3 separate regions of the Homo sapiens genome follow, and regions 2 and 3 are each linked to region 1. Evidence: promoter capture Hi-C in human tissues and cell types (Jung and others, 2019). All regions are on one chromosome and are shown on one strand. Each heading gives the region's core, a stretch centred on a gene start or on the middle of the fragment in contact. The rest is flanking DNA. Distances are from core to core; before and after follow the strand shown. Region 1 holds the start of KLRG2 (killer cell lectin like receptor G2). Region 2 overlaps FMC1-LUC7L2 (FMC1-LUC7L2 readthrough). Region 3 overlaps HIPK2 (homeodomain interacting protein kinase 2).

What was found. The method cuts DNA at HindIII sites, captures the fragments that hold promoters and counts their contacts. A contact is called where the count stands out against the background at its distance.
Region 2: a contact is called between a fragment that was not itself captured here and the fragment with the promoter of KLRG2 in region 1, in 2 of the 25 tissues and cell types used here (mesenchymal stem cells and spleen).
Region 3: a contact is called between a fragment that was not itself captured here and the fragment with the promoter of KLRG2 in region 1, in 2 of the 25 tissues and cell types used here (heart left ventricle and neural progenitor cells).

What each region holds. Positions count from the first base shown.
Region 1 is chr7:139,481,961-139,485,220 of GRCh38, forward strand. KLRG2 (killer cell lectin like receptor G2) reads right to left here and starts at 1,713. Exons shown (of 5, transcript NM_198508.4): 1 at 926-1,713. The coding sequence starts at 1,682. RefSeq lists an enhancer at 873-952 and silencers at 1,083-1,362, 1,823-1,882. The HindIII fragment of the contact is 6,160 bases long and covers 1-3,260 here.
Region 2 is chr7:139,391,883-139,395,142 of GRCh38, forward strand. The region is part of intron 3 of FMC1-LUC7L2 (FMC1-LUC7L2 readthrough); the gene reads left to right. All of the region lies in intron 2 of LUC7L2 (LUC7 like 2, pre-mRNA splicing factor), which reads left to right. Among named protein-coding and RNA genes, the nearest start is that of LUC7L2, 34 kb to the left of the region's middle. The HindIII fragment of the contact is 3,512 bases long and covers 1-3,260 here.
Region 3 is chr7:139,568,176-139,571,435 of GRCh38, forward strand. HIPK2 (homeodomain interacting protein kinase 2) reads right to left here. Exons shown (of 15, transcript NM_022740.5): 15 at 1-3,260. Among named protein-coding and RNA genes, the nearest start is that of CLEC2L, 46 kb to the left of the region's middle. RefSeq lists enhancers at 415-915, 916-1,416. The HindIII fragment of the contact is 8,657 bases long and covers 1-3,260 here.

The DNA of each region.
Region 1 (3,260 bases), core at 463-2,962:
AAAAATTGGCTATCTCTTGCCCCAAATTCACCAACTACTCCCTCCAGTCTCCTTATCCAGGACAGTCTGTATCTTTTGTGGGCTCTTTCTTCTGTGTCAAGCTCCCCCTCCCCCACACCACAAAATAACCAGCCGCACATACTACTGGCACATCTACCCTGTGGTCCCACTCACTATCTACTGAATGGATGAGTGTTTGGGGCTAAATGTTCCTCAGTGTGGTGGAAAGAAAGCAGCAGCCTGGACCTTCCAGAAAGTCCTTGGCAGTGCAGGGATGGGGGGATCTGGGCTGCCACCCCTGCCACCTGATCCTGAATGACTTCCCCTCATCTGGAGTTCCTTCCACTGCTACTTCTCAAAGGTGCTGCGCATGCTAAGAGGGAATTTGAAAGTTCGGGAGTGCGGGTAGGGGAGGATGAGAAGGGGAGTGGCTTTACTCTTTTTTTTTTGAGACGGAGTTTCTCTCTTGTTGCCCAGGCTGGAGTACAATGGCATGATCTCGGCCCACTGCAACCTCCGCTTCTCGGGTTCAAGCGACTCTCCTGTCTCAGCCTCCTGAGTAGCTGGGATTACAGGTGAATGCCACCATGCCAGGCTAATTTTTGTATTTTTAGTAGAGACGGGGTTTCATCATATTGGTCAGGCTGGTCTCGAACTCCTGACCTCAGGTGATCCGCCCGCCTCGGCTTCCCAAAGTGCTGGGATTACAGGCGTGAGACACGGCAACAATGTGAATTACAGTTACGTAGACAGGAATGTTATTGATTGTAAGCCCGAGAGGCCAGATCGGGTTGGGGATCGGGATGGCCAACTGGGTCCCTTAGTCGGTCAGCTGCCCAGCGGTCCAGGGCTGGGCGGGTGTGGGGGTTTCGGCTACGTCCACCCGACCTGGCGGCGTCGGCTGCCGGCGCAGGTGAGCACTCACCCGTAAGCGTTACGGCCCGGGGCAGCTTCTCGTCGCCGTCCAACCCCGCGCGGGGCAACAGCGCCGCATCCTCCTTCTCCAGCCCCAGCTCCTTGCAGCGGCAGCACGTGGGGGAGCCCGGGGAGCCGGCGCTTCCTTCCGCGGGGCTGGCCCGGCCCTCTGCGTCGCAGCCGCTCTCCGTCCGGGCTGCAGCCAGCGGCGAGCGGCGGCCCCACGTGCCGCCCTGGGATGGTGCGCGCAGCAGGAGCTGGTGCGCCGGGTCCGCGTGGCGGGAGAAGGCAGGGGACTCGGGCACCGGCACCTTGAGGAAGCGCGTGGAGGGCCTGGGCGATGGCGTGCTGCTGCCACCGGCCGCGCCCACGGGCTTCACGCGCACATCTACCTGCAGCTCCATGGGCGCCCAGGCGCTGGGCGCAGGCTCAGCCCCGGGCGCCTCGCCATTCCGGGGCAGCTTGACCAAGGCAGGGCCCGGTGACGGCGGCTCGGGGCAGACCCCGTAGCCCAGGCTGAGCGGCGGCACGCGCGGGGACCCGGGGCGAGGCGAAGGCGGCTTTTTCTTGCTCGAGGGCTCCAGGCCTGCGCCCGCCGCCTTCTCCACGGCCCCGGCCGGACTTGGGCTGCTTTCGGGACCTTCAGGTTGTCGCACCTTCGCGGGCACCTGCGGCTGCTCCAGCGTGGGGACCAGGCTTCCCACGGGCTCCATTGGGAGCTCTGCCCCGGCTTGGCCTCCGGGCGCAGCCTCCCAAGACTCCTCCATCCCGCGCGCCCCGCCACCCGGAGACGCTGAGGAGCGCACCTGGGCCCAGTGCAGAGGAGCTTCGCTCTCCTCCGTCCGGATTGGTCCAGCCGCGTCGCCGAAGTTGTCAGGCCACGCCCCTCCCCGAAGGACCCCGCTGTGATTGGCTGTGGCTGAGGTTCTGCTGCCCCGACCCCCTTCGGGACACAGCCCCGGCCTCCACCAGGCACTGGGAGGGAGCTGAGAACGGCAGCGGGGCCAGGCGAGGGTTGCAGGGTGGGCGGGAGCTCTCGGGAGAAAAGCAGAACACCAGCGGAGGCTTGTGGCAGGGAACCCGGAGCCCCGCCTGACCCTTCCCTCTTCTTTGTCTCTGACCTCACCCATTTTCCCCTCCAGCCCTATGCCGGGGTGTTGGTTTTGAGAGTTACAGTTTGGGCGGGGAAGGATTGGCCAAGCCTGTCTGGATCCTGGGACCTCAGAGAAATCAGAATCCAAAGGAATTGGGGCGACCTGTGGAAAAGTAGCCCAGTTGGTTGTCCTGACAATCCAGCAGGGTTTCGAAAGGACTCTCCATCATACTTGGGAGGACTCCCCCACTGAGTAACGCTAAGAGAAAAGAAACAGGGCGTGGATAAGCAATTCTTCTTTTTTTTTTTTTTTTTGAGACGGAGTCTTGCTCTGTCGCCAGGCTGGAGTGCAGTGGCCCGATCTCGGCTCACTGCAATCTCCGCCTCCCAGGTTCAAGCGATTCTCCTGCCTCAGCCTCGTGAGTAGCTGGGACTACAGGCACCCACCCCACCACGCCCGGCTAATTTTTGTATTTTTAGTAGAGACGGGGTTTCACCATGTTGGCCAGGATGGTCTCGATCTCCTGACCTCGTGATCTGCCCGCCTCGGCCTCCCAAAGTGCTGGGGTTACAGGCGTGAGCCACCGCGCCCCGCCTGGCCTCTGGTATTTTTAAGTGCCCCCAGGGTAGGGTTGGCAGATAAAATGCAGGCCACTCAGTTTAATTTGAATTTCAGTTAAACAAGGGATAGTTTTTAGCATAGTAGTCCTCCCTTATCCACTGGGATAGTTCCAAGACCTCCCAGTGAATGCCTGAAACTTTGGATAGCACCAAACCCTATATATACTGTTTTTTTCTATACAAGCGGTCTTCAAAAGGTTCATGGAAAATTCATACTATGAAAAAAACTATGCATGGATTTGAAAATTTTTTGGCACCAAAATAAATTTGTACTAACTTGTTATCACATGTCTCGACAAGATCTAGTTTGAGGCACTAAGAAGGATAAGACATCAGTTTGAAAAGAGCTCCTGTCAGAGCAACAAGGATTCTGCTAAATTTGAAGCAAGAATAATCATCACATTTATGGTGACATCATTGATATTTTTATGAAAAGCTCATGGGGACAATGCCCCCAAGAAACCAGCAGTTTGCAAATGGAAAACTCGTTTTAAGAAGGGATGAGGCCAGGCGTGGTGGCTCAGCCTGTAATCCCAGCACTTTGGGAGGCCGAGGCAGGTGGATCACTTGAGGTAAGGAGTTCGAGACCAGCCTGGCCAACATGCTGAAATCCTGTCTCTACTAAAAAAGC
Region 2 (3,260 bases), core at 295-2,794, 90 kb before region 1:
GGCCTGGCTTCATTGATTTTTCCAATTGTAGTAATAATCATGCTCATTGCTTATAATTCAACCAGTACTAGAAAGTTCAAACAACCCTCATAGTAATATAGATTTGTAAATTCCAAAATTCGTATTTTATTATGTCTTTCTTTGCCACCTTCTCTTTTCTCCACTTGGTATATCAAGAACATCATTTTTAAAGGCTAAATAGACACTGTATGGCTATTCCATAGCTGAATCAACCAAACCTCTGTTGAGAGGCTCTTAAAATGTTTCTTCTTGTATAAAAAACAACATTGTTAAACTTTATTCTCCATTTATCTTTTTATAATTATTTCACTCTTAATTCCTTAGAAATAGAATTCCTTAGTCAAATTATCAGGTTTATTCAGTAGTCATGGTTTGTGCAAAACCTGGTCTTCTGGGAGGGATAAGTAAGAAAAATGGACCATTTTTCTAATGAAGCTTAAGAGTTTATTTGGGGAAATAACATTCACTTTTGGAATTTCAAAAGAAAAGTTAAAAATTCTTGACGATTTAACTTTGTTACCTTTGTTAGTAAAACAATATAAAATGCTGTGGAGCTATAAGTTACCAGGATCAGGTATAGTTATTTGGTCCACATTTCATGCAGTAATGGATTCAGAATGGAGAAGACAAAATGCAGAACTGAACTTAATTACAAATAAGCATTTTTTAAAAAATCTACAATCTAAGCATTTAGATGTAAAAATATTAAAAACCAAGAATAAGCTTGTGGAAGGAATTTAATTATGAAGTAAACTACTTGTCTTTTTTTGAGATGGAGTTTCGCTCTTGTTGCCCAGGCTGGAGTGCAATGGTGTGATCTTGGCTCACCGCAACCTCTGCCCCCCAGGTTCAAGCTATTCTGCCTCAGCCTCCCGAGTAGTTGGGATTACAGGCATGCACCACCACGCCCGGCTAATTTTGTATTTTTTTAGTAGAGACGAGGTTTCTCCATGTTGGTCAGGCTGTTCTCAAACTCCCAACCTCAGGTGATCTGCCCGCCTCGGCCTCACAAAGTGCTGGAATTATAGGCGTGAGCAACTGCACCCAGCAACTACTTGTTAAATTAAAAAAAAAATTTTAAGACCAGGTGTGGTGGCTCACGCCTGTAATCCCAGCACTTTGGGAGGCCGAGGCGGTTGAATTACCTGAGGTGAAGAGTTTTAGACCAGCCAGGCCAACATGATGAAACCCCAACTCTACTAAAAATACAAAAATTAGCCAGGTGTGGTGGTGCACACTTGTAATCCCAGCTAGTAGGGAGGCCGAGGCAGGAGAATTGCTTGAACCTGGGAGGCAGAGGTTGCAGTGAGCTGAGATTGCACCACTGCACTCCAGCCTGGGCAACAGAGCGAGACTCTGTCTCCAAAAAATTAGCCGGGTATGGTGATGTGTGCCTGTTGGTCCCAGCTACTCAGGTGTCAGGTGGCTTAAGCGGGAGGATTGCTTGACCCTGGGAGGTAGGGTTGCAGTGAGCTGAGATCATGCCATTGTACTCCAGACTGGGGGACAGAGTGAGGCCCTGTCTCTAAAAAAGTAAAAATAAATAAATAAATAATCATATATTTTGTGACAGAGTCTTACTCTGTTTCCCGGGCTGGAGTGCACGATCTCAGCTCACTGCAAACCTCTGCCTCCTGGGTTCAAGTGATTATTGTACCTCATCCTCCTGAGTAGCTGGGATTACAGGTGCCTGCCACCCTGTCCAGCTATTTTTTGTGTTTTTAGTAGAGATGGGGTTTCACCGTGTTGCCCAGGCTGGTCTCAAACTTCTGACCTCAAGTATCTGCCTGCCTTGGCCTCCCAAGGTGCTGGGATTTCAGGAGTGAGCCACCACACCTGACCATGTTTTAAATTTTAAGTACTTCTCATGTGCATAGCACAGTGCCAGAGTAGATGCTTAGTAGTCATCATGGTATGGACAGAGGAATATAGATGACTAGTATTCTGAAAATCTGCCTTGGCTATACCTACTGTCCCACTAGGTCCCTGAAGAGATAACCACTGAGGATATTCCACATACAAAAAAGCCTTCTTTATTATAATTAGGCCCTTGGTCCTAGGGCTTTGACACCAAAATCTACTATGATGAGTCAGGCTAGGCTATAAACTTGCAAGGACTTAGAGCCCAGAAAGTGACAAGCCCAACTAGCCTGCCTCTTGGAGGAAAAAAGAAGAATAGCTCAAAACACTTAAGAAGGTAAGGAGTCCAAGCAAAAGAGATAATCCAAGGAGAGGCTAAGAAGAACCTCCCTCCAGAAGCTCAGATCAGTTTTGTCCTGGAATTCATCTTGACCACTCTGGCTTGTTAATAAGCCGCCCTGTGCCAAATGTTCTTCTTTGCCCTCTTTCCTAGTTTGATTTATTCAACATAGGCACATCGTAGATAAAACAGAAGAATCCTTGCCCTATGGAGCTCACATTTTAGTGAGTTAATCTTACCCCTCTCATGCATCTTCCCCATGGCATGCCTTCCCCAAAAGGCTACTCTCACCAAAAAGTCCACCTCTACTATAGTGGTAAAATTGTATCTTTCTTGTGTTCATTTTGTTCTTAGTCTACATAGTTGCTTTTCTTCCTTTGGTTGGTTGTGTGATGTAACTTTAAAGAAGTGGAGGCAGGGAGCCTAGAATTATTGCAATAGAGACAGAGATGTTTAGGTTAAAAACAATGAGGCAAAATTTATGTGTTACTTTTAAGTTTTTGTTGAATACGGATTGGAAATGTAGTTGATCAGGGAACTGATGAAAGTAAGATAAAGGAGATACGGAAGAAAGGAAGTAGACAGCTGCTTTGAATCTCTGTGGTGAGCTTTCTTAGATGTTGTGGGGAATGACTTACTGAAAAATATTGAAAGGTAAGTTAGTACTGAAATAACCGGAACTAGCATGGTAAAGTGGAAGCAATATTAGACTAGGAATCAGTCTAACCAGATTTTCTGATAAGCACCCTGAGCAAGTCATTCTTTCTGTGCAAAGAATGGGACTAAAACTAGATCAGTGAGTGGTTCTCAACATTGCACATTAAAAATACCTGGGGGGCTTTTACAATTCAGTCAGTCTTTGGGAGGTAGGAATTGGGACTGTTTTTTAAAAGCTTCCATCAATATTATGTAAAAGTTCCCCAGGTCTAAGTTGAGAACCACAGTGGATCAAAAAGTCTTTCCAACTGTGACATCTTGCATTTTATGAAATAAAATAGAATGTAGCATCATGTGAACAGCTATAGCTTGTGGAAATAAA
Region 3 (3,260 bases), core at 226-2,725, 86 kb after region 1:
TTGGTGTCTGGGCGGGCTGAGTCTTCTAGGTTGAAGAGGACAAAGGTCAGCTGGCTCCCCCAGCCCGTGAACACCTCAGCCACCAGGAAGACTAGAAAGGCTAACAGTCCAGGAGATGAATGCCGCTTTGCTCCAACCCTTCTTTTTCCTCTGAATTCCACTGACCGCACGCTCCACTTCACAGTATTAACTGGCATCAAGCCTCGACTCTCCCACCCCTTGATCTGCTCACCCACTTCCCTTGGAAACATCCAAAACATCATGAAGAGGCCCTAAGCACAGAGACATGGGGGCCCACGTCCAGACGGGCCAGTCAGAACCCAGTGAGCAGAAGCAAATTGCCCTGCGGTTCACCAGGCTCCAGTTAAACACTCCTCCGTGACCTGACATTTCAAATCTTCCCCTCTTCCTCTGAACAATGTCTCTTCAAATGGGAAGGAGGGAGCCCACAAAAGACTAGAGGATGCTCTAGATGATTCGTGGGCTAAGTAAGGACTAGGTTGGCATCCCTCTGCTTGAGAGCTTGGTCCTAGTGACAGCAGCCTATTTGCTAAGGTGACTCAATGGCAGATTCGGCCAGGTATGCAATTGGGCATCCAGGGAGCTGGCCTCTCCTGCAGGGAGCTTCTCTTGGGGCTTCTGATGTGGCAGCTCCATGCATGGGGGTAGAGGAGGCCATTGGGTGAGGACTAGGAGAATGTGCACTAATGTTTGCTGAGCGTCTGTGGGGCTGGCATCGCCCAATACTTCCCTTCCCTTCCCTTCGGTGAAGCTGGCTATTTCACCCCTTTCTTCAACTGGGGCCTAGCACTTTGTGGGTCTGGGGACAGCGTGTGAGCACCCAGCGCACACAGCACAGTGCACTGAAGATGTGGCCGGAGCCCAGTGGGGATGCTTTCAGAGGGGGTGCAGCCTGTGATGCCTGAGCAGCCGCCCAGCTTTGTTCAGGGTTTCTCTGGCCTCCTGCTGTCCCTCCACCCACTTCCAGCTGGCTAGAATTGGGTGCTGGGGGCATGCATCACAGGGGGAGGGGGCAGGCTGAGGAACTGGGTGGTGTGGTGAAATTTCCTGGGGAAGGTACCACCTGCCAGTCACTCTTACGCCACCTCACTGTGCCCAGCAGCTTCTGGGAGGGGGCAAATGTCCCTGCATTGAAGAACCTAAGCCACGCCCCAGGTGCGCCGATGGCAAAAGGATGGATTGTGGGGAAGCGGATGGGGTCACCTCTGGGAGGGAATTTTCTTGCTTAAATACCAGAGGCAAGCCAAAGATTTAGTTAACAGATTTCAGAAGCACAGGAGAGCTCTGAGGATGTGGGAGAGAAGCTGGCTAAGGGCTGGACAGTCAGTGACTCGACATTCCCCGAGCCCATGAGATGCCACCTGACGTCGCATCCCAGGCCTCTGGGATCTAGAAAATGACAACCTTGATGGTGACCATGTTGTCAGAAGCCCAATCAAGGCTTTGATTCTTCTTTAAACTTTTGTTCTGTGGTGGATCTTTCTTGACGTCTCTTGTTGGGATAGAGATGACAGAAACAATTTTCCTACTTCCTAAGTCTTTCCTTTTTTTTTTTGCCTGACAAAACTGGACATCTGGATGTCCCTCCAGTCTACTTATATACTCACAGAGAGAATAAGTTTAAATATTAAAGAGAAAACACAAAGATACTTGGAATAAATGTGCATTTAAAACCCTGACTAAAATATCAACATAATGATCATAATTACAATGGTAATAAAAATAATTAGTACAATAATATTATCTTTATGAGCAGCATGGAAATTTCATTCCTGATCTGGAAGAATAAAAGGAAAGAAAATGTCAGGTGAAAGAGTAAGTAGCCTCCAACTTAAGCAGACAGAATAATTTTCTTTAAAATGAAAAGAACATTTTAAGCTGTCTTTCCCCCTAAAAGATCAGATCTAGAAAGGGCTGGAAATGAACTGTGCCCAGGAATCTGGGGGTGCTCTCCAGTAAGGCGAACTGAGGCTCATTTGCAGCCAAGACTTGGAACTCGGGATGAGACCTAATGGGCTATTGCTGCCATCTGGCTGCCAAAAAGTCCCTAATAGATGGATTTTCCAGGCTGACCCAGCTGTGGGGCGGGGGGGGGTCCTCTGGCTTCTGTGTCCTCTGAAGCGTTTGCTGCCCTCACCCTCTCTGAACTGACCATTGTCCTGCTGTCTCAGAGGGCTGCGCTTCCCCACCTCCAGATAAAGACAGTATTGATAATGGCCCGAGGGAAGGGAATCTCCTTGCTGCAGGCCTCTTGCCGGCACAGCCTCCAGCAGGCACTTGGCAAGACTGCCCGGCTGTGCCCAGCATGGAGCAGTCATGGTGTCCTTCCTTCTCGCTGAGGCCTGGACTAAGCTGTTTCCAGTTTGGGGACCTGTTTCTTTATAAGTAAGAATTTATGGTTGGGGTGGGGAAGTTTCCAGAGTTATTTCACAGCTAAGAGCTAAGTAACGACTTCGTTACTGAGTTAGGTTGGATATCACTACAAACACACCTTTCACAGTAGATCCTTGAGGGAGACTGCACAGTGAGGAAGTAAAGGGAGGGAGGATGAGGATGGGGCCGCTGACTCGGGAAAGATCTCTTTGCACCTTGGAAACCTGCCTGTGGGGTCAGCTAAAGACTCAACATCAGAAGCAAACAATTAGAACCACCCTTTTCGGCCCCATCCTTGGCCAGATTCTCCTGCCATTCACATTCACATATTTCAGAGTTATTTACTATGAAGAGAGGGAACTCCCCACTTCTCCACACCTCCATCCCCAGAAGTGTCCAAAGCCTGAGAAAACTTCCAGAATGTATCAAAGGTGCAAAGAGGGCAAAGGGCAGATTTCTTTGGAAATTCAACTGTGTGAGTTTTTCCAAAGTGCAGCGTCAGACCCCCGGCCACCCTCATAAGTGTCCCTCCAACCTTCTGCCCACTAGAACCCTCAGAAACCAAAACCAAAATCATGTCTTGAGCAGACCTGGGTAATGTGAGGAGAGAATTCAACAGCAAACAGAGGTTGGTGGTTGTCTACAGAGGGAGGGATCTGGCAAGATCGTTAGAGCAAAACAGCCCAGGGAGCCGGAGGAGAGAGTGGAGCCCCGGGCGAGGCTGAGAGCTCCAGGCTCTCGTGGAGGCGGGAGGGACTGGGGGATGCCGCCTGGGGCGGGAGACGGCTGCCTGGCGAGGCCAACAGTCCGGAAACCTCTGGCCTCACAAATGGCGGAACTGGGGACAGAGTGGGGCAGGGGTGAAG